7 separate regions of the Homo sapiens genome follow, and regions 2, 3, 4, 5, 6 and 7 are each linked to region 1. The links are contacts of gene promoters, found by promoter capture Hi-C in blood cells and fetal thymus (Javierre and others, 2016). All regions are on one chromosome and are shown on one strand. The core of a region is centred on a gene start or on the middle of the fragment in contact, and the rest is flanking DNA. Distances in the headings are between cores, read along the strand shown. Region 1 holds the start of POU3F2 (POU class 3 homeobox 2). Region 2 overlaps MMS22L (MMS22 like, DNA repair protein). Region 3 has its middle 2.3 kb from the start of SIM1. Region 4 overlaps MMS22L (MMS22 like, DNA repair protein). Region 5 holds the start of MMS22L (MMS22 like, DNA repair protein). Region 6 overlaps LOC101927314 (a long non-coding RNA gene). Region 7 overlaps LOC101927314 (a long non-coding RNA gene).

Evidence for each region. The method cuts DNA at HindIII sites, captures the fragments that hold promoters and counts their contacts. A CHiCAGO score of 5 or more calls a contact.
Region 2: a contact is called between a fragment that was not itself captured here and the fragment with the promoter of POU3F2 in region 1, in 3 of 17 cell types (total CD4 T cells, naive CD4 T cells and M2 macrophages). The highest score is 8.6, in total CD4 T cells.
Region 3: a contact is called between a fragment that was not itself captured here and the fragment with the promoter of POU3F2 in region 1, in 2 of 17 cell types (naive B cells and total B cells). The highest score is 14.1, in naive B cells.
Region 4: a contact is called between a fragment that was not itself captured here and the fragment with the promoter of POU3F2 in region 1, in 4 of 17 cell types (total B cells, naive CD8 T cells, naive B cells and 1 more). The highest score is 7.7, in total B cells.
Region 5: the fragment with the promoter of MMS22L here is called in contact with the fragment with the promoter of POU3F2 in region 1 in 2 of 17 cell types (total CD4 T cells and total B cells); the score reaches 8.2 in total CD4 T cells.
Region 6: a contact is called between a fragment that was not itself captured here and the fragment with the promoter of POU3F2 in region 1, in 1 of 17 cell types (naive CD8 T cells). The highest score is 6.1, in naive CD8 T cells.
Region 7: a contact is called between a fragment that was not itself captured here and the fragment with the promoter of POU3F2 in region 1, in 9 of 17 cell types (total CD4 T cells, total CD8 T cells, naive CD8 T cells and 6 more). The highest score is 14.7, in total CD4 T cells.

The regions. Positions count from the first base shown.
Region 1 is chr6:98,833,015-98,835,944 of GRCh38, reverse strand. It overlaps POU3F2 (POU class 3 homeobox 2), which reads right to left and starts at 1,371. Exons shown (of 1, transcript NM_005604.4): 1 at 1-1,371. The coding sequence starts at 1,071. RefSeq lists enhancers at 1-57, 58-654, 653-722 and a silencer at 1,361-1,430. The HindIII fragment of the contact is 14,703 bases long and covers 1-2,930 here.
Region 2 is chr6:97,199,541-97,202,470 of GRCh38, reverse strand. The region is part of intron 14 of MMS22L (MMS22 like, DNA repair protein); the gene reads left to right. Among named protein-coding and RNA genes, the nearest start is that of MMS22L, 82 kb to the left of the region's middle. The HindIII fragment of the contact is 158 bases long and covers 1,423-1,580 here.
Region 3 is chr6:100,465,768-100,468,697 of GRCh38, reverse strand. No RefSeq gene overlaps it. Among named protein-coding and RNA genes, the nearest start is that of SIM1, 2.3 kb to the right of the region's middle. RefSeq lists an enhancer at 454-1,045. The HindIII fragment of the contact is 3,319 bases long and covers 1-2,930 here.
Region 4 is chr6:97,216,995-97,219,924 of GRCh38, reverse strand. All of the region lies in intron 14 of MMS22L (MMS22 like, DNA repair protein), which reads left to right. Among named protein-coding and RNA genes, the nearest start is that of MMS22L, 65 kb to the left of the region's middle. The HindIII fragment of the contact is 1,523 bases long and covers 681-2,203 here.
Region 5 is chr6:97,281,732-97,284,661 of GRCh38, reverse strand. MMS22L (MMS22 like, DNA repair protein) reads left to right here and starts at 1,446. Exons shown (of 25, transcript NM_001350599.2): 1 at 1,446-1,566; 2 at 2,109-2,348. The coding sequence starts at 2,185. RefSeq lists enhancers at 1,170-1,229, 1,610-1,869. The HindIII fragment of the contact is 13,882 bases long and covers 1-2,930 here.
Region 6 is chr6:97,391,648-97,394,577 of GRCh38, reverse strand. All of the region lies in intron 1 of LOC101927314 (a long non-coding RNA gene), which reads right to left. Among named protein-coding and RNA genes, the nearest start is that of MMS22L, 110 kb to the right of the region's middle. The HindIII fragment of the contact is 7,266 bases long and covers 1-2,930 here.
Region 7 is chr6:97,480,775-97,483,704 of GRCh38, reverse strand. The region is part of intron 1 of LOC101927314 (a long non-coding RNA gene); the gene reads right to left. Among named protein-coding and RNA genes, the nearest start is that of MMS22L, 200 kb to the right of the region's middle. The HindIII fragment of the contact is 6,453 bases long and covers 1-2,930 here.

The DNA.
Region 1 (2,930 bases), core at 122-2,621:
CTTTTTCCGCTTGCGCCCTTGCGCTGCGATCTTGTCTATGCTCGTGGGGCTGCCCGAGGACGAGTCCGCCTCCTCCAACCACTTGTTCAACAAAGGCTTCAGCTTGCACATGTTCTTGAAGCTCAGCTGCAGGGCCTCAAACCTGCAGATGGTGGTCTGCGAGAACACGTTGCCATACAGGGTGCCCAGAGCCAGCCCCACGTCCGCTTGGGTAAATCCCAGTTTGATCCGCCGCTGCTTGAACTGCTTGGCGAACTGCTCCAGGTCGTCCGAGGTCGGCGTGTCCTCGTCCGAGTGCGGGTCGTGGTGCGCGCCTGGGTGGCCAGGCGGACCCTGCGGGGGCGGCGGGGGCGGCGGCTGCTGGTGTGGGTGCGAGTGCGGGTGCGGGTGGTGGTCGGCATGGTGTGGCTCGTCGTGCGCGTCCCGCAGGCCGTGGTGGTGCAGACCGGCCGGCTGCCCGCCGGCGCCCAGCATGCCGTTCACCGTGAAGCTGGGCTGCGAGTAGAGCAAGCCGCCGTTGGACGCTCCCATGGAGGGTGGGAGGTGCGCTGCAGCCGCCGCGCTCCGCCATGCCCCGGGTCCCGGGTGGTGGTTAGCGGCGTGGTGCACCAGATGCGGCGGCCGCTGTTGCTGCTGCTGCTGCTGCTGTTGCTGCTGTTGCTGCTGCTGTTGCTGTTGCTGCTGCTGATGCTGCTGCTGCAGGGCGCCTGGCCCGTGCAGCTCGTCTCCGCGGCCGCCCTGCTGCACCACCACCGAGGGCTTGATGTCCGGCTGGCCCAGGGGGCTGGTGGACCACGGGGAGCCGTCGCCGCCGCCCCCGCCGCCGCCCCCGCCCCCCCCGCCGCCGCCACCGCCCCCGCCGCCGCCGCCGTGGGACAGCGCGGTGATCCACTGGTGAGCGTGGCTGAGCGGGTGTCCGTTGCTCTGCAGAGCGCCGTAGTCGCCCTGCACCAGGCTCTGCGCTTCGCGGTAGCCCCCCGCGCCCTGCTGCATGCCGCCGGGCGGCTCGGCGTGCACGATGGAGGCGCTGGAGGTGAGCAGGCTGTAGTGGTTAGACGCTGCGGTCGCCATGACTCTCGGAGCCGGACTGAGCGCTCCGGTTAAAGGAGCCGCGCATTTGACAGTTACTTTTTCGCCTCGGGCTCCCTCTCCTCGCTCGCTCTTTCTGTCTCCTCTCTCTCCCACAGCGGGCAGCTCCGACGCCCGCTCCGACGCCTTCTGTTGCTGCTCCTGCTATTACTGCTGCTGCTGCCGCCGCCGCCGCCTCCCGCCCGCCCTCGCTCTCTTTCTCCTCCTCTCCCTCCTTCTCGCTCTCGCTCACTCTCTGACTAGCTCGGCGCTCCCCCCTCTCCCTGCTCTCTCCAGCTCTCTCCCGCTCTCTTGGCAGCGCCGGCTCGCAGCGGCACGCGCCTGGGCCCCGCCCCCTCCGCCCCCTCCCATTGGCTCCGCGCCCTTTGATTTACGTGGATACCGCTAGCAACCTCCCAGGCCGGCGCCACTGATTGGCGCAGAGCTACTCCCTCCCCCTCCCCCGGGCTCGGAGTCCTCCTAGCCCTCCTCCCCGTCCCCTTCGCCTCCCGATTCAGATTCTCTCAGTTCTCACCCCCCCGCTTCTTCCTCACCCGGGGCCTCCTCCGCCCTCTCTCGGATGGGCCCCGCCCCCCATCTGTCTCCCAGGCAGAGAAGACCGGCAGGGGGGCGGTCCCGGTGCTCTTATCGGCCACAGACACTTGGAAGACTTGGATTGGGGTGGGGGGCGGGAGGCAGTGGTGTCCACTTTCGTTTCCCAATAGGGCTTTAAGATGGGGAAACGGAGGGGGTAAGGGAAAAGCTGGGTCGCACCGAGCCAGCGGGAGTCGGATTTTTATTCACCTAGGGACACACACACAGTGTGTATCTCTTAAACCTAGAGCCAAGAGCCAGACCTGTTCCCCTGTTCAACTCTCCTTGCATCCCACGGTTAGAATTTCAGTGCACAAGTGTCTCTTGCTCCAGGGTGTGCGGACACTTCGGCCCAAAGCTCTTCTCCTTCCCCTCTACCCCGCGGCTAGCACAGGCTCTCTTCCTTTTAGGTTCCAGGCCCAATTGTCTCCCACTCCCTTGGGGAAAGAACCCCGAGAGAGGCAGGCTCAGCCCGCACCGCGGCTTGTAAGTCATTCCCATCAAGGCTCGGAGTTGCTTGCTCTGACAGCGTAGCGGTCTGAACTGAAAACCAAACAAAACTCTAAAAGTCTCTCCGTCAGATTCACACGCCGGCGCGTGCAGTTTTTGGTTTAGAAAACTAGAAGCCTGCGTGGGCTCCGTCTTGTGCGAGGCTGCCGGAGTGCTGGCGAGGGGTGTGCGGCCTTGTAGGGGCGGCGCAGTCGCCAAAGGCCGCTCCGGGAAGCCGCGCGGAGGGCCTGCGTGCGCGATTCCCCGTGCTCCTACCGCTGGTAGGTGCAACTTTTCCGTTAGCCCCTTGGGAAGGAGGAAGAGTGTGTGAAGCAAATGGGCTGATGCCAGGGGAACCTTCCTAATCAGTAACTTCGGTGGGCGCTAGCGGGTGGGGTTAGTCTATGTCTTTGGCGCTCCCTGGCCAAGCTCCCAGCTCAGCTTTCAGCAGTGAACTCCAGAGCAAGACTATGGGACCATGCACCCGCAGCGCCGCTCTACGGAGCGCGGGCGCGTCGCGCCATCAGTTCTTTAGCCGCCCAGAGCAGGTGCCGCCTGCGAGTTTCCGAGCCTGCAAGCCCGGTAGCTAGAACTTGGGCGCGGACCCAGGCTGGAGCGGCGTGACCGCCACGCAGGGCCGGGTGTGTACATGGGCGCTGTAAAGCGAATCAACAGTTACTGCCGGGAAGGGAATGACAGACCCCAGGGAACCTGGATCGCGTCCCCACCTCTCACCCCTCGCTCTATCGCTGGTTTTGCCGGCGGTCGTAGGCTTGAGA
Region 2 (2,930 bases), core at 252-2,751, 1.6 Mb after region 1:
ATAGGATCCCTCCCATAATGCTAGAAAGGATATTTAAAAGTTGTGTTGCAGCGATCTTCGCAGCTTTGCTCTATATATATAGATCTGAAACATCCATTGCCATATTTAAAGGTATATGATCTCAGGCAAGTGGATAGAGAGGTTGCCAGGTAAACACCCTTCTGTTAGTGCACAGGAGTAGCTACTTGGAAAGCCATCTGTATGAAATCTATGCTAGTTTAAAATTCCTAGGAAGGCCTGAATAGTAAACTGTTATTTAGGATAGGTGGGTGAGCTCTATTTATGTCCTTTCCAGCTTGAGTGATTACTCAGTTGTTTAGTACACAGCAAAATATATGTAAATATTGTCATCTGTGTTAAGTGCTAAGTAAAAGACAAAGGTATGTTGTTATAAGAAGAATACAGTGGTCTCTTGGTTTACTTTCTCCTAATTGGCAGTGAACATGTGTCCTCTGCTATATGTAAGCACAAAAATGTTACTGTGGAAACATTTGTAGGCTTTCTAAAAGTATTGTTCGAGGGAATAAGCTAAGACTGATATTTATCTTAAACACATAGCTTGTCCAATATTTAAACCTAATGGACAAGATGTGTACCAGTTGAAAATGTAATATTTATCCAGTCATTTCTATTCTGTCAATCTAGGCTCTAAAGCAATAGATTGCACTCATAGAGTAATAAATTTTTAGTGAATTTGGAGATAAAGGCTATTGGTGGTGATTGCTTAAACTCTTTTTGCTCAATCATCTGAATGGTGCAAATCAAAGCATTTTGTCAGACTGTGAGAAGTTTCACCTAGATATTGCTTCCCACACACGCGGGTCACCATATAAATTACATTCACGGTTTTACAGCATAGCTGGTGCTGGAAGTTAAATTGATGCCCAGTGGTGGAACTCGTAAAACATTTTCCTGTTAACACGACCAGGCAGAGTTGACATTGTTGATGGTGGGTTCGATCTAATAAACTATTGGGTCTAACAGTGATTTTTACTGTGTTTCAGAGATGATGATGATACAAGTTTAGTGATCCAGCAGTTCTTCCTGAATGACAGAAAATTAGCTCCACTGTCTATATTACCAAATGCTGGGAAGAGTAAGAGTAAGAGGTGATTGAAGCCTAACGTAACCACATGTTCTGAAAGATCATGAATTATAGGAACAAGCTCTTTAACTCAGTGTATACCTTCTTTATAAAGAAAAACACTGATTTTTCTCAAAAGAATATATTATATATTATCTGTTGGAAATACTTTATTATTACATTATTATTCAAATATGTAGGCTGTGTCCACCTTTCACAATCTTTTACACAGATGTTGTAAGCTGATTATTGTTTCTGAAAGGAAAGCAGGTTTACATTTTGGTTACATTTTTTTCTGTGTGTTTTTTAAAGTTACTTTCTTATAAGGACTTTAAGCTTTATCAAAGATTTTTAATTTTGAACTACAGCAACAGTCAATCTAAACATCTTATTCCCATAAGAGTAACTTTCAGGGGTTAATTTCTACTGGCAGTTACAAACAATGGGTACTGTCTTAAGATTTATTTTGAACTACTTTTGCATTGTTCTTAAAGCTTTATGAAACTTTGTCTTATTTGAAAGTAATTTTTTTTTCCAATTTCTAGTTAAAATTCACAGGATGGTAACAAAGCCCTACTCTTTTATCAGTGTAAGCAAGTATCTTTCCATTTCTTCCTTGTTTGACATTATATCTGCTCCTATAGCACTGTTGCACATTCATACTGAATCGGTGATCTTTTTGTAGTTTTGTTCCATTTTATGAGATATCACAGGTCTTTTACTCACCACTTTAACATTTCTTATCCCAGCATATGCATGGATTTTTTTTTCATCAGGAGATGAGCTTTTTTGATGTGCAGATAAATGTTATCAATGGTGCTACGCAGATGAAACCTGTCATGTACAAATAGCATGTATCAAGCCCTAAGCATGCAGATACCAGATAAATCGGTTCATTTGCTGAAGCCTTGCAAAAAGAAATTAGTGCTATAATAAACGCCTTTGAGGCTCTCAGCCCTAATAATGGAGCTTTATAATAAACCCCACAGATCATTGACTCAATGGATAATCTTTTAGGAAACTTTTTCCCCTCCTCTATCTTTTCCTCCCTTTTAAAGAACTACAGTAAAAGTGGTAAATAGCATCTCTATAGGGAATGTATGTGGTATGAAACTACATATCTGGAAAACCATAATTTAAAATTAAGAAATTTATTTACTGCTAAATATGATATTATTCTAAACGAGCTTATACTTTTTGATGATTTTCATAATTGATCTTAAACATGTATTAGTCACTGCTTTTTCTACATAGAATTCATATTAAACATTCCTCCTAAGTTAGTGCATTTTGTACATGAGGTTACAGTTGGATTGTTGACTACAACAGAGGCACAGAGTGAGGAGATCAAAATAAGGCAGAAGAGGAGTCAGGGAGAGAAATTGAGAGGAGGCATTCAGCTTGTACTTAGAAGTGTTTATAAAGTGGTAGAAAGCAGAAGAAAGGGGATGGGGCTTATACACATTTATGTATACACAAAACTTTACACATAATTTCAAGGAGTTTGCAGATTTCTAAAGATTATATATGTACTGCAGGTTTAGCACTATATTACAATGGTGACTAGACTGTTATTTCCATTAGGGTTTGGTTATACTTTTGATGAATAAACACTTTAAAAAATATCCCTAGGTACTTTTTGACTCTTACTTGACTGAGTTTTGAAATCCAAAAAGAAAAAAAAAAACAAGTCACTATTGGAGCTGATGATGAGGTTTGTAGATCCATTAACACAATTGGCAATGGTCACTAGTTTCTGGTTGTATAATTTACTGCATTTTTTGAGTGTGAGAGAAGTGTTGAGGATGCAGAATGCTTAAGAGGTTTTAGAAAAATTATTTATCAA
Region 3 (2,930 bases), core at 164-2,663, 1.6 Mb before region 1:
CGGGTCAATTTAGGGAGACAACTGAAAAGCAGTACCTAGGAAAAGGGTTTTTTTATATTTATATACATAAAATATACTTTTCAAAACGTCCTGATCAGACAAGTAATATTTACCATAACTTCTAAATAGTAAATATGACCATATTTTGGGGGGCTCCTTCTACACTTTGTTTAGGGTCAAGGCTACAAGTGGCCCTTGTTTCTGCCTCAACATCATAACGACTCTCAGAGATGTAAATGTCTAAATGTGGTAAAAATAAATGAGTCTAGGACAGGATTACGTTAACTAATATACTTGGAACTAGAAAATGTTAATATTTCCTAAGACAATAATATGTCCCTAGATAACTTGTCCTTTTCAGTGACAGAGTGAACATCTGGATGTAACATACTGAGATGTTCGAGTGACCATCTTCAGATTTTGTATCTTGGTTATAAATATATCCTTCATCCTGACCTTGGACATTGAGCAAAATCCATGTGTGTGTGCTTTGTGCAACTGTGCATGTGGGATGTGCGAGCATGCAAAAGTGTATGTGTGCGTCCCTAGCAGTCTGCAAAAAAATAAAGAGAATGGTGGTGGACAGAAATCATTCTAGTTTTGATAAGATGCTCAAACAGCCTGGAGCAAAGAAGAGTCATTAGAGGAGTTTTTGGAAGGCAGGGTGGAGGTCTGTGCCAGAGCAAGGGTCGGGGGCCGAGGCATTGAACCCCGGTTCGGCGGTTTGCACCGGAATTCCAGTATGTGTTCACTCGTTCTTTTACAACCGAAAGTTCACCTTCTGTAGTCTTGATTTTGCCTTTTGCGGGGAGGGGTCAGAAGGCCCTTGAGGTGCCCGCTCCCCCTTCTTTCTGGGTGCGCGCGGCATGCTAGACATTGCTCACAAAGGCGCGTTGGTTCCAGAATCTACCCGGCCTGGCTCCCCTGGGGTAGAGTCACGGACGCCTGCATGTCCTGGCCTCCGGGGTCCGGGGCAGGCTCCATGAGGGCAGCATCCTGGGTTGCCCCAGAAGTGGCAGGGACTCTTGGGGGAACAGTGTCGCCATCACACTAGGCTGTTCGCCCTGCTTGGTGGGGGAAGGAGGGAGACACTTTTTTGCAGCCCCGCATGGGTTTTCTCCCACATCAGGATCGCATTCTGGGTGCCTGAGGGCCAGAGGCTAGGTTTTAAGGCCACCGGCTCAAGGAGGTGGCGGCCTAGACTCTATAAGGATCTCTATTTGGGGTTAGTGGGTCGCCCGTGACCGTCTCTTCCTTTCTGGGGCTTTTCTCCTTATATTGGCAAAACGATTAGTCTCTGAGCTTCAAGAAATTCATTTAAAATTTCCCGTGCTAGAGGCGAACGTAAATTCGCAGAACACGTGGGAGGCACCTGAGGTTCCGGTTCACGGTTCACGCCTCCGGCTACAGGGCGCGTGGGGGGCTGGCAGGCGGGGTCGTGGGGAGGGTGCAAAGCCAGGTCCCTGGGCCCGGGAGGGGGAGTGAAGGAGCAGCGTTCCGGCTCCAACCTAGGTTCAAAGATTAGAAAAACAGGTGTTACGTCGTCATGCTAATTCACTCTCTCGGTAAACGCGGCTCAGACAGTTGTGTGCTGAGGACTTAGCGAGAGGCCGTCACCTCGTGGTCGTGCATTCACTTTGTTTATTAAACGACATCTACTTGGCTCATTGACAACTGAGCTTCACTGGGACATTGGAACAGCCCGCCCAGCCCCCCAGGACGTCAGCCTTAAGCGTGAAGACTTCCTTACTCATTTTGCCCATCTTGCTTCTGAAGGCAAAATTACTGCATTTTTTCTTCTGGAAACCCAGCATTACCTGACTCCCTACCTCCACCCCCCGGAAGTCCCTGCTGTGGACACAGGTTTCAAACCCCAGAGAGGCACTTCCACACCGGCATGTTGTTTTAAGTAGAGATAGGGTTAGAGTAACCGCGGTCTTGACTGAAATCCTCTCTAGAACACAGTCGAATGGAAAACCTCCTCTTAACCCTAAGTGTCATTGCTTCGCCTGGCAGCTATATGTGACCTGGTTGGAGGGGAGAGGAGGGTCAAGAAAGGTTATTTCCCCTCTCCACACGCACCCTCCACCCCCGACTTTACATGTAGTAGCCAACTTGACCTTATCTGATCTTTCTGGAATCTTGTGTATAAGTGAGCCACAGTGCATCTCTCGCTATCTTCTAGCTATGTCTTGTTAAAAGCGCATCATTGGGTGGTTGGAAGGCGCCCAGAACCAGATCTCTAAGTGGCTACAGCCACTGGGGAAATGACTCCTCCTAGATTAGAGTCCATTAGCTGGATTCCAGTTTTGAAAGACCTACAAAATCTCCGTGCTTCTTTCTTTTTCTTTCTATCCAAAACTTTCACCTCCTCCAGCCAGGTGTTGCCCAGATATGTAAATAACACCAGAAAGCTGCTGTTGTCCTTCTACGACTATCTTACTGCCATCGGGCGGCAAGGAGGTGGCAGATGTCTGTATTTTTGAACAAACACTCTTAAAGTTGTTCTGAATATCAGCAGAATGGCACACACCCCTCTTCAAAGTATTTATTTTCTCAGTGGCAATTAGCGCCACAAACGAGAGGATGAGTGCCCCGTCACTGGTGTTCTCACTGATTTTTATGGTAGATGAAACAACTCCCTCCAAACGCACCTCTAGGAGCCGAATCTGGTCACCGGCGTACCAAAACCAAGCCGGGAGTCGAGTCTGTAGGGGGTGATTCGTGAGGACAACAATTGTTTTTGGGACAATTTGACTTTTTCTTGATGCTACCTGTTGTGTTTTCTCAGATGAGAGAAAGAGAAGGCGGTTCAAATTAGAGGGTCTCTAAAAGATAATTAGTCAGCAAGAGTCCTGGTGAGCGTTTGTTTAAACAGCTCCTATTAGGGAACCGCGAGCATCGTTAAGTTCATTCATGTAGACTGTATC
Region 4 (2,930 bases), core at 193-2,692, 1.6 Mb after region 1:
GAGGTATTTGAGGAGAATGGAAAGTGTTTTCAGAAGTTAGTAGTATGTTGATGAGAGGTAGAGATGGAATTAAAGAGCATCATATATGGGAGGAGCCAGTATTCCAGGCAGGAGACTTATGCACACAGCAAGTTTTGCTTTTTGCCTTTGCTTCTTAAGGAACCTCTAGTAGTGCCTGATAGTTGCTGCTGTCAAAACATTGTATTAAAAAGCAGGAGCTTTAAGGTCAGTAAACCTGAGTTCAGATCACCCTCTTTCATTTACCAACAGTGCAATCTTAGGAAGTTACTTAATCTTTTCTAAGTTTCAGCTGCATCTTTGTAAAATAATATCCACCTCATAGGATTTCCATGAACATCTGCTTAGATTTCTGCTGTCCAGTAGGGTAGCACTAGCTATGTGTGACAGTTTAAATTAGTGAATATAAAATAAAAAATTCAACTGTTCTGTAACACCAGCTATATATTAAGTCCTCAATAGCTATATTTAGTTAGTGGATAATGTAGTGGATAGCAGCAGAAAGACTTGCCAAGGGATAGCACTGACTTTGATGCTGCACCTGTCCAGAACATGAATCATAATAAGCTTTCAGTACATTCAATACATGTTGGTTTTCTTCATTTATCTTTTCTTCATTTTTTTGTGAATAATATTCATGTCAAGAAGCTTCATGTCAAGCTTCTCTTGAAATGCATGCTTGTACATTTCAAGAGAAATGTATGCTTATCCGTGTGTTACCAGTTGATATGGTTTGGCTCTGTGTCCCCACTCAAATCTTATCTCAAATTGTAATCCCCACGTGTCGAGGGAGAGACCTATAATCCTCCATGTGTCAATGGACAGAGGTGATTGGATCATGGGGGTGGTTCCCACATGCTGTTCTTGTAGTATTGAGTGAGTTCTCACGAGATCTGATGGTTTTATAAGCATCTGGCATTTTCCCTGCTAGCAGCTCTTCCTCCTGCTGTCATGTGAAGATTTCTGCTGTCCAGTAGGGTAGCACTAGCTATGTGTGACAGTTTAAATTAGTGAATATAAAATAAAAAATTCAATTCAGGGGTCCTTGCTTCCCCTTCACCTTCCTCCATGATTTTGGGTTCCCTGAGGCCTCTCTGGCCATGGGGAACTATGAGTCAATTAAACCTCTTTTCTTTATAAATTACCCAGTCTAGGGTGTTTATGGCAGTGTGAGAACCGACTAATACACCAGTCTTGAATAATCTCTATTCCTGTTGAATTTCCTGAATAGTTACTAAATCTCTAATGTCCTTTATTGTTTTTTACCTTGTGTTGTAATTATTTTCTAAAGGGGAGACATATTCATGAAAAACAATTTATTCAACAAATTTAACTAGTATTTTTGAATGCCTACTATGATAGTAGGCACTTAGGATATATCAGTGAACCAGTCACATGAAGCATATGTAGTATGCACTCATGTATTTTTTACATGAAAGACTAAGATGGTAGAGAGGAAGGACAAAGAAACTTGTATTTATTTAAACCATCACTTTTTCACCATTTCATACTACTTGCTAATGGTTTATACTTGTCCTGAAATTTTATATGCTTATCCAACAATTCTTGCCAGTGTCCATATGCAAGCAGACAACAGTATCCATGCAGTCAGGATATGGATTTAATGCATAATCTGAATTTCATCTCTGTGTTTATTGTCTTCTAAGTACCCATGGGTAGAAGGGACCTCTAGAGGATGATAGGAGGTTTGTTCTTCCCAGTTGAAAGGTTTTCGGTGTTATTGAAAAATTCAGTGTGTTTTCCTTAGTATTTTCTGGATGACTATTATTATTTTATCTTTCTAATTCACTAGTTATCATTGAATTTTTTCCACTGAACTATGGAAACAGGTGCAGCAAGTGGGTCCTTTGAGCCTTTACCTTCCTTTTGAGACATTTCGGAACCAGTCTCTCAAGGCTGGGTCTGCAGGAACACTTTGAATCTACAAGTGCAGATTGTCTGTATTGGGATTAGAGTGGAAGGAAGGCATTTGGAAGAGGGAACTTAGAAAATGGAATGAAGGAAATAATCAATAAAACAATTTAAGAAAATTTCTCAGAACCGAAGATTCTGTAATGAAAGGGCCTATTGAGTGACTCCAGCACAACATAAGAAAATAGAATCACAGCAGGGTCCATCTGTGAGAAATTCAAAATACTAGCTACAAAGAAAAGATATCAAAGCTTTCACAAACGTTCCTCACCCTTGTTAGTCTTCTGGTTTTTTATTTGCTATGCCCCTGATTATAATCTGTAGTTGTAATCTAGGTCAGAGCTGATATTTAACCCCAGTTCCTAATAATTATATAATTAACGTGGGAGGTGAATGAAGCTTTATAATTAGATTTTATTTGGCTGGGTGCAGTGGCTCACACCTGTAATCCTAGCACTTTGGGAGTCTGAGGCAGGCAGATCACCTGAGGTCAGGAGTTTGAGACCAGCCTGGCCGACACGGCGAAACCCCACCTCTACTAAAAATACAAAAAATTAGCTGGGCGTGGTGGTGGGCACCTGTAATCCCAGCTACTCAAGGGCTGAGGAGGCTGAGGCAGGAGAATCGCTTGAACCTGGGAGGTGGAGACTTCAGTGAGCCGAGAATGCGCCATTGCACTCCAGCCTGAGCAACAAGAGTGAAACTCCGCCTCAAAAAAATAAATAAATAATGAATTAAAAATAAAAATATATTAGATTTTTTACAAGATTACTCCTACTTTCAAGAAGCATAGAATAGAATAGAGCTTTATGATTTCTGATTTATAGTTATTACCAAAATTTGAAGTTACCAGTAATATGATTTTTCTAGGATGAAACCCAGAAAATTGTCTTCTCATAATTACAGAGGAAAAAGAGAAAACATAAGGGTGGAGAAAGAACACTGTAAAACAGAAACTAGAGTGAAGAACATTGGATAAA
Region 5 (2,930 bases), core at 197-2,696, 1.6 Mb after region 1:
TTTTTGTGGAGACAAGGGACAGGGTTTCACCATGTTGCCCAGGCTGGTCTGGAACTCCTGGTCTCAAGGGATCCACCTACTTCAGCCTCCCAAAGCCACTGTGCCTGCCCTGGCCTGAAGTTTTCTTGTAAGAAGTGGTGTGTGTGTGTGTGTGTGTGTGTGTGTGTGTGTGTGTGTGCAGAGAGAGAGGAGGGAGGCTTAACCAAAGATTCTGAGTACTACGATAAATACAGAGATACTCAAATTTTCTTCTTTTGTTGATTTTTGACAGTTTGCGTCTTTTAAGGAATTTGTCCATTTCACCTATGCTTATTGGCATAAAAATGTTCATAATGTTCTTTTAATATCCTTGTCCTTTTAATGACTAAATTTCATAGTGATGAAACCTTTTTAATTCCTGATACTGATAATTTGTTTATTTTCTTTATCAGTTTGGGTAGGGGGGTTATCAATTATATTGCTCTTTTAGAAAAACAACTTTTGCATGTATTTCCTTCCATTTATTTCATCCCATTTATTTCTACTATTTATCATTTCATTCATTTTGCTTGCTTTGGTTTCAATATGCTGGGGGTTTTTTCTAGTTACTTAAGACAAAAGTTTATTGAATTGAGTTCTTCTTTTTAATGTAAGCAGGTACTGTTACAAATTTTAGTGTTTTCATTTTAATTTAATTCAACGTATTTTCTAATTTTCCTGTGATTTTTCCTGATTCACAGGTTAGTTAGAAGTATGATTCTTAATTTCCAAATATTTAGAGTATTTCAAGTATCTACTTTATTTCTAGTTTAATGCCATTATGATCAGACTATACACTTTGTACGATTTAAATCTTTTTAAAGTTGATGACATTTGTTTTATGGCTCGGAATATGGTATCGCTTAGTGAATGTTTCATGTGCACTTGACAGGAGTGTGTATTCTGCTATTGTTGGGTTGGTCACCTATAAACGTCAATTAGGTCAAGTTGGTTAGTGCTTTCCAAGTTTTCCATATCCATACTAATTTTCTGTCTACTTGTTCCATCTGTTACAGAGAAAATTAATTGTTGCACTTGCCTGCCTCACAGTCCATGGACAAAAGGCATCTGCATTCTAACAAGAGTTGCTGGCCCCAGAGCGGGAAGAGGGGACGGCGCGACTGTGGGTGTGAACGAGGCACTCACTTCGCACTCACTGGAGTAAATATCTTCTCTTTGGTCCGGCCAGAGGATAAACCCATAGTCCTTAAGTCCTCTCCTCCGCCTCAGCAGCAGTTCTGTTTTTTTTTTTTTACCAGGCCCCGCCTTTCAGCCGAACGCACCAATTAAAGGTACAAAAAAAAAAGTTTCTCAGTACCTCGTCCCGGACTGACGGACTCTCGCGAGAATTCGTGGGGCTCCGACTGTTTCCGCGCAGATATCGCGAGGCGATTGGTAGCCGGGGGAGGGCTGCGCCGTGGCCCCGCCTTTCCGGAGCGCGGGCGCGCGGTGGCGGGAATTTCGCCTGTTTGCGGTTTAGACCCCAAAGATTCCTGTTGGTGGTCTGGGTCACAGGAGGCAGGTTTCGGGAGCTGGAAATGTGAGCGGGTACGACAGGCACCGCGGGTAACCGACGCCCCGGGTCCTTGCTGCAGCCGGGTACGCGGGATACCGGCACCCCGCCTTCTCCGCCCGAGTGCTGCCAGGCGTGGGCCTGGTGGGTCTCGCCTCCTCCTTGGAGGGTCGGGGTTGGCCCTAGGGGTTGCTTTCCTAATTTCCACCCCGAGCCGGGGAGGGAGCGTTCTCCACCCTGCTGCTGGGAAACGGGCGGAGAGTGGTTTAGAAACGTTGCGGAGGGCGCAGTTCTAGGCAAGCCCGGGACGCTATGTCCTGCAGACATTTCTTTGCTTTTCACCTTGTCCTGGGCTGCAGAGCCCGACTTAGTGGCCGGATTTCGAGGTCCCTGCCACAGCCAGTTGGTTGTGCATTTTGTCTTAAGTTCTGACAGCCTTGATGGACGGAGGGCGAGGGGGAATTGGGAATTTGGCCTCTGGGTTTGTTCGTTTGTTTTTCCTTCCTGCTGGCGGACGTCTTGAGAACTTTCTGAAGTAATCCCCACTCTCTCGGCCCCACCCCCCCCCCCCCAACAGGAATCTCTTCACACCTTCTCTTTGGAGCCCTTAATGATACGACGAACCCCAAGTGTTTCAGAACATGAAGTAAACAATGGAGAACTGTTCTGCTGCATCGACGTTCCTGACTGACAGCTTAGAGCTGGAGCTGGGGACGGAATGGTGCAAACCTCCTTACTTTTCTTGTGCTGTTGACAACAGAGGAGGAGGAAAACATTTTTCTGGAGAATCCTACCTCTGCAGCGGAGCCCTTAAGCGGTAGGTAAAACTCAGAGACATTTTCCCTCATCTGATTATTCACCAGTTTTTTAGGAATGTTAGTTATTTCAGCCCATTAAACTTTGGTGTTCACCAAGTCGTGTTTTATAAATCAGCTTAGTATATCATAAGGGTACAAATGATTATCAGTTCTGCTGGCTTCTTGGTAAGGGCATATCTAAAGTATTTGGGGTATTAGGGAAAACTTCCTTGGTAACTGATGTTCCCTTACTGTAGGGAGCTGGGCACTAATTTTTCTTCTACTTAAAATGAATTCCTAACTATCTGAGCCTTTTGCAGTAGTATTTCCTTCTAAAGAGTGTGATAATATTCTAGAGCTTTCCAGTAATATTTAAGAGAGACAAACATTTTTTATTGCCCCTGTTCCTTCTAATCCTACCTGCACATATAGAAGTGTATAGACTTATTTTGCCTTGGGCAGGTACATATATATTACAGTAAAACTGTTCTTGAAATATTTTGGTAATACCTGCTGAGGCAGTTTCAGTGAGGAAACTATTTTTGTTGACCTTATAGTTGTACCTTGTTAGAAATCTTAAATAGAATACTCAACTTCATTAG
Region 6 (2,930 bases), core at 176-2,675, 1.4 Mb after region 1:
AGGAATTATTAAAAGACTGTTCTTTCAAATAAGCTACATTGAATCATGAATATGGTGAACAAAATCTTCAACTACATTTTTATAGAAAATTCAGAATTGAATGTTACAAGGCTTCTTCCTTCAATAAATTTAATAATGTTGAAGTATGATTGACAGGAGGTCAAAGTACATAGTTCCCTTCCAGAGAACTTCAGTTTTCATTCCTTTAAAATACCCATGCACTACAGGTAGATTGCCACTAGGTGGGAGTAGTGCTCAGTGAAGCAGTGTAAGCAGCCAGAGCACCTCGATGTGTTGATATCCAAGCATTCATTCATTCAACAAATCTAGAAGTCTCTTTTCTAGGCTGCTGGTTCTTTGCACCCAATTCCTCACAGATTTAAAAGCATGTATTATCAGTATTTTAGTCAGAGATAATTTCTTTCTTAAAAATTATTTCAAAAAGAAATGTAATTATTATGTGAACAAGTATCAATACACTTTAAATTTTTAAAAGAAATTAGAATTCTATGATACATGATTGATATCTTACCTCACTACATATTAGCTGTCCAATTAGCAGTTTACTCTAACTCTACAGACCCCAAAATGGAATTTACTATATTTCACCCTGGACTCTTTAATCTAAGATCAATTTCCCCCTAGTTGGATTAGTCATCCCTCTGATTCTCTCAGTTTAAGAAACAGATCTCAAAGCAAAAGAGGTGGCCTACACCTCTCTAATGGTTCCACTAATGCTGTTCATCTCACACTCCTCAAATCTACTTTCAGGTAACAAGGCACCAAAAACATAAGAAAAGCATTTATGGCCAAGGAAGTACCCTTCTTCCTTTCTGGACTGGTCCCTCTTTCTCCCACTCAAAAGGAACCATTTATCTAATTTTTATACATAAAATGTTTACTTCGATTTTCTTTATGACATTGCTCCTTCCATCAATAACTTCTTCATTTAAATATAAATAAAATTAGCTACTAATGAACAGATCTAGTACTTGTACCATTCAGCAACAGGACACTTTTTAACAAGACAAAGAAATTCAACACTTAAACAACTAGAGTGAATAACAAGAGGTTTAGAAAGTGGCAAAAAATTACCTCATCATACCTTGTGTTATCCGCATTTTAATATAAGTAGACCAAAAAAGTGTCATGAGACTTTAGGGAAATATAAATAACAATTTTCAATTAACACTTTTGATTCTGAATCAAACAGCAAGCAACCTGTGATTTTCCTTACTGAGAGGTTTCCTTTTGAAAATTATCTCCACTCACCTTTATGTCTTTGTGTGTTCTGCCTGTGTGACATATATTTAAAAATCAGTATCTATACAATGAATGGGATTCAGATTTACTATTTTCTATTTTGTACAACACATGTCTGCAACAAAACATTATTTGCCTATATATGTGTATGAGTTAATAATGAGTTCTCAGGACGCTTGACTTCCTTAACCTACTTCTGCTCCTCTATGTCATTTTCCCTCCCCATCTCTTGCTCCCACATCCATTTCCCTCCTCCCTTCTAAGCCTCTATTCTCAGTTGTCTCTCCTCAACCTTCTGCTCTGAGCCTAAGACCTCATTATCTCTGCCCCAAACATTTGATAATCTCCTAACTCCCTTCCTTCTATGATCTCATCCCACAAATCTAAACTTAACTTCACAGAAACCTGGCCCTATCACTCAAAAGTCCTCAGAATTCCCATCACTTAGAAATAAAGCCTAGATTCCTTAGAAGGAAATAAGGTTCTTTGTTTTCTGATCTCTACCTTCCTCTGAATAGTGTCTTCCACCTGCAATTTAAAATCCAGCAATTCCTAATTAACCCAAGTTCTCTAATCATATGATTCATCCTTTCACATCTCTAGAACTTTGCATGAAATTTTTTCTTGTCTGGAATGCTTTTGACCTCACACTCCACAGCCTTTTGGCAAACCTTTATTCATTCTTCAAAGCTCAATTCATTTGCTTTCTCCCTGAAGTCTTCCTTATCCCCCCGCCCTGACCCAGCTTTCCTTCCTTTCGTCCTTCTGCTTTCTTTAATATCTTATCATTACTAAAATATTTACAGATTAAATTAGCCCTTCCATTTCCTTAATTATATTTTATGCATGGAGGAGTCATGAAAAGATAGACATTTAGTAATATCAGTCCCCCAGGAAAATTTTTCAAAACTTTTAAAGCTATGTATAAAAATAGTGGCTGGGTGTAGCGGCTCAACCTGTAATCCCAGCACTTTGGTAGGCTGAAGAGGGAGTATTGCTTGAAGCCAGGAGTTCAAGACCAGCCTGAGCAACGAAGTGAGACCCCTATCTCTATGAAAAATAAAAAATAGCTGGGCATGGTGACACATGCCTGTGGTCCCAGCTACTCGAGAGGCTAAGGCAGGAGGATCACTTGAGTCCACAAGTTTGAGGCTGCAGTTAGTTATAATCACTCTATTGCACTTCAGCTTTGGTGAATATAAATATATTAATATGTAATAAATATAGTAATATATTTATTATATTTATATCGATAGATAAACATGTATTTATGTATGTAGATCTTTTAACTATATATGTAGTATATAAATACATATAATATATGAATTTTTATATATATATACATAAATATATAAATATATATAGACTATATATATAGTCAAAAGATCTACATACAAGTGCACTTTGATAAATTTTGCATATTTATAAAATATTTAGGGAAAATGTTGATTAGACGATTTATTTCAACATAACATTAAAATCTATGTCCAAAATGCAATTCCTATAGGTAAAACAAATCAAAAAAGCCTCTATAGTTCCCCAGATCTGCTAATTCTCATTTAAAACATTTAATACAAGATGTCCTATGATAGGAAGATTCTATTCAAGATTACAGTACCTTCTATTCATATGCATAAAATAGGATGTGCAAAAATGAATAAAGAATG
Region 7 (2,930 bases), core at 227-2,726, 1.4 Mb after region 1:
TCTTATTTATTTAAAAGTAAATATGTGTTTTACTGTACTGATATAGAAATTTTTTTAAATTCATCCACACACCAAAAAAAAGAAGTTTTAAATGAGGTCAAAATAATTTTTAAGGAAGTTTTATATATTTATTTATTTCTGAGACGGAGTCTCACTCTGTCACCCAGGCTGGAGTGCAATGGCATGACCTCAGCTCACTGCAGCCTCTGCCTACCAGGTTCAAGAGATTCTCTGCCTCAGCCTCCTGAGTAGCTGGGATTACAGGCATGCACCACCACACCCAACTAATTTTTTTTATTTTTAGTAGAGTTGGGGCTTTGCCATGTTGGCCAGGGTGGTCCCAAGCTCCTGACCTCAGGTGATCCTCCTTGCTCAGCCTCCCAAAGTGCTGGGATTACAGGCGTGATCCCACCATGCCCGATGTAGGAAGTTTTAATAGTATCTTTCTGAATGACAAGAGATCATCTTGCACAACTTACTTTGAAAATCCTTTTTCATTACTTACTAATCCACTCCATGCATCCAGAATGAAGCCAGAATTCACATACAGACTTTTTAATAGAAACATCATTTAAAACACCTAAAGAAACAAGTAAATTAATCTGTAGCAGAGCTCTGCTTATGACTCAGAATGTCTCTATTTCTTGGGTGCTTCAAAAATCTAGAGCCAAAGTTTATTTAATAATTATAGATAATAATAATGGCAGAGGTTTGATCATTTCTATTCTAAATTCTATTCCAAAATGCAAGTTTGTTTTACATACAGAAAGTCATATTGTTCTGTTTTTGTCCCTATAATCCATTCTAAACATCATACTCTATTTATCCTTTGCTCCATAGATCTTTTAATGACCTTTGGATGAAAGCAATAAAATGATAACTTGATGATTGCCACACATGCACAACAGGACATAAATTGAAGGTAAAATGTATCGGTCAAAGCACCTAGTCTGCTTCTCAGTCACTGCATAAATTTTCCCAGTGACATACTAAATAGTTAAATACTCACTTTTTTAAAAATAAATGCATATTCTAAGATTTCCTGCATCTGTATATTTTCATAGCCACCTTATTTTCCTTGTTCTATTACTAGCATATATTCCTCATTCTCTTGAACAAAGTCCCAATAGCAGTTGAACTCTAGCAATTTTAACTAACCCTAGTAATCTACTTTCAAATCTTTAATCAAAATATTTTTCCCTGCAGTTGATGAATATTTGCTCCTTCACATTTGTACAATGATTTTTTTTCATTCTGTCATTTAGAGGCCACAAACCTTAAAAATGTTAATCTGCCAATGAATAACTCTTGGGTGTTGATGCTATTAAAGTTAAAGGCAAATAGGGCTGGAATAATCAAAAGTGAATTATCTCTAACTAGATGTTATACTTGTATAAAACTAAATGATGACTGGGCGCGGTGGCTCACGCCTGTAATCCCAGCACTTTGGGAGGCCGGGGCAATCACAAGGTGAAGAGATCGAGACCATCCTAGCCAACATGATGAAACCCCGTCTCTACTAAAAATACAAAAATCAGCTGGGCATGGTGGTGCGCACCTGTAGTCCCAGCTACTCGGGAGACTGAGGCAGGAGAATCTCTTGAATCTGGGAGGCGGAGGTTGCAATGAGCCGAGATCGCGCCACTGCACTCCAGCCTGGCAACAGAGCGAGACTCCGTGTCAAAAAAAAAAAAAAAAAAAAAAAAAAAAGTCTAAATGGCAAACTAATTATTTTTAAGTAAAAACTATGGGTTTCATGAGTTATTTTCCCCAATTTCAGTGTAACTACTAACTTTGAGAAAGTTTCCTCACATTCAGTATTTTGTAGAAATCCATCATAAACTTGAAGATGGTATTTAAGTTTATTATAATTGAAGTAATATCAGTAAGATGGTAAAATAAGAAGTCTCACTTCTCTTTTCCCACAGGGTCACTGAATTAACAGCAACAAACAAAGCAAAAATCCTTTTTGAGAATTCCAGAAAAACGTTAAGAAGTTGCAGTACCCCTCGTGAGCACAAAGCTAAGTACAGCAACATTGAAAAGGGTAAGAAGGGCCATTCCATTTTATCCATGATTGTTCCTCCAAGTCAGCACAGTTTAGGTTGGCTCATGGCTTTTCCTTTAAGGGCAAAGAGAAGAGTGTACATCTAACATCCTGGCTTTTTGGAAGACAGCCCAAGAGACTGGTATCTGTTTTGCCTGACTAAAAGTACTAACAGAACCGCATAATTTGGATGCCTGGAGGTCTCTTAAAGCAAAAGCAAGTGGCCGGGCGCGGTGGCTCAAGCCTGTAATCTCAACACTTTCGGAGGCCGAGGCGGGTGGATCACGAGGTCAGAAGATCGAGACCATCCTGGCTAACACGGTGAAACCCCGTCTCTACTAAAAATACAAAAAATTAGCTGGGTTTGGTGGCGGGCGCCTGTAGTCCCAGCTACTCGGGAGGCTGAGGCAGGAGAATAGCATGAACCCGGGAGGTGGAGCTTGCAGTGAGCCAAGACGGTGCCACTGCCACTCCAGCCTGGACGACAGAGTGAGACTCCATCTCAAAAAAAAAAAAAAAAAAAAAGAAAGAAAGTGGGGAACCATGTGGTGCTGCAGGTAGAGGCTGTTAGGGCTTGGTACAACTGGGACAAGATTTTCAACTCATCACTTCTCCCTTGGGAAAGAGGAAAAAAGTAAACCAGACATTTGGCATTTTGGCTTTTTGGAATGCTGCCCAAGGAACTGGTATCTGTCTCATCTGACTTGGGAAGCTAGTGGAAAGCTACCATGCTTTGGATGCCTGGAGGCTACTAAGACAAACGAAAGAGGAGTACCTTGCTACTTCTATGAGATAACCTATAGTATGACTGACAGACATCACAGAAAGCAAGAGATTATAAGCTCCTGAGAAAGAAAACAGCAAAGCTCTCTAATTGGGAAAT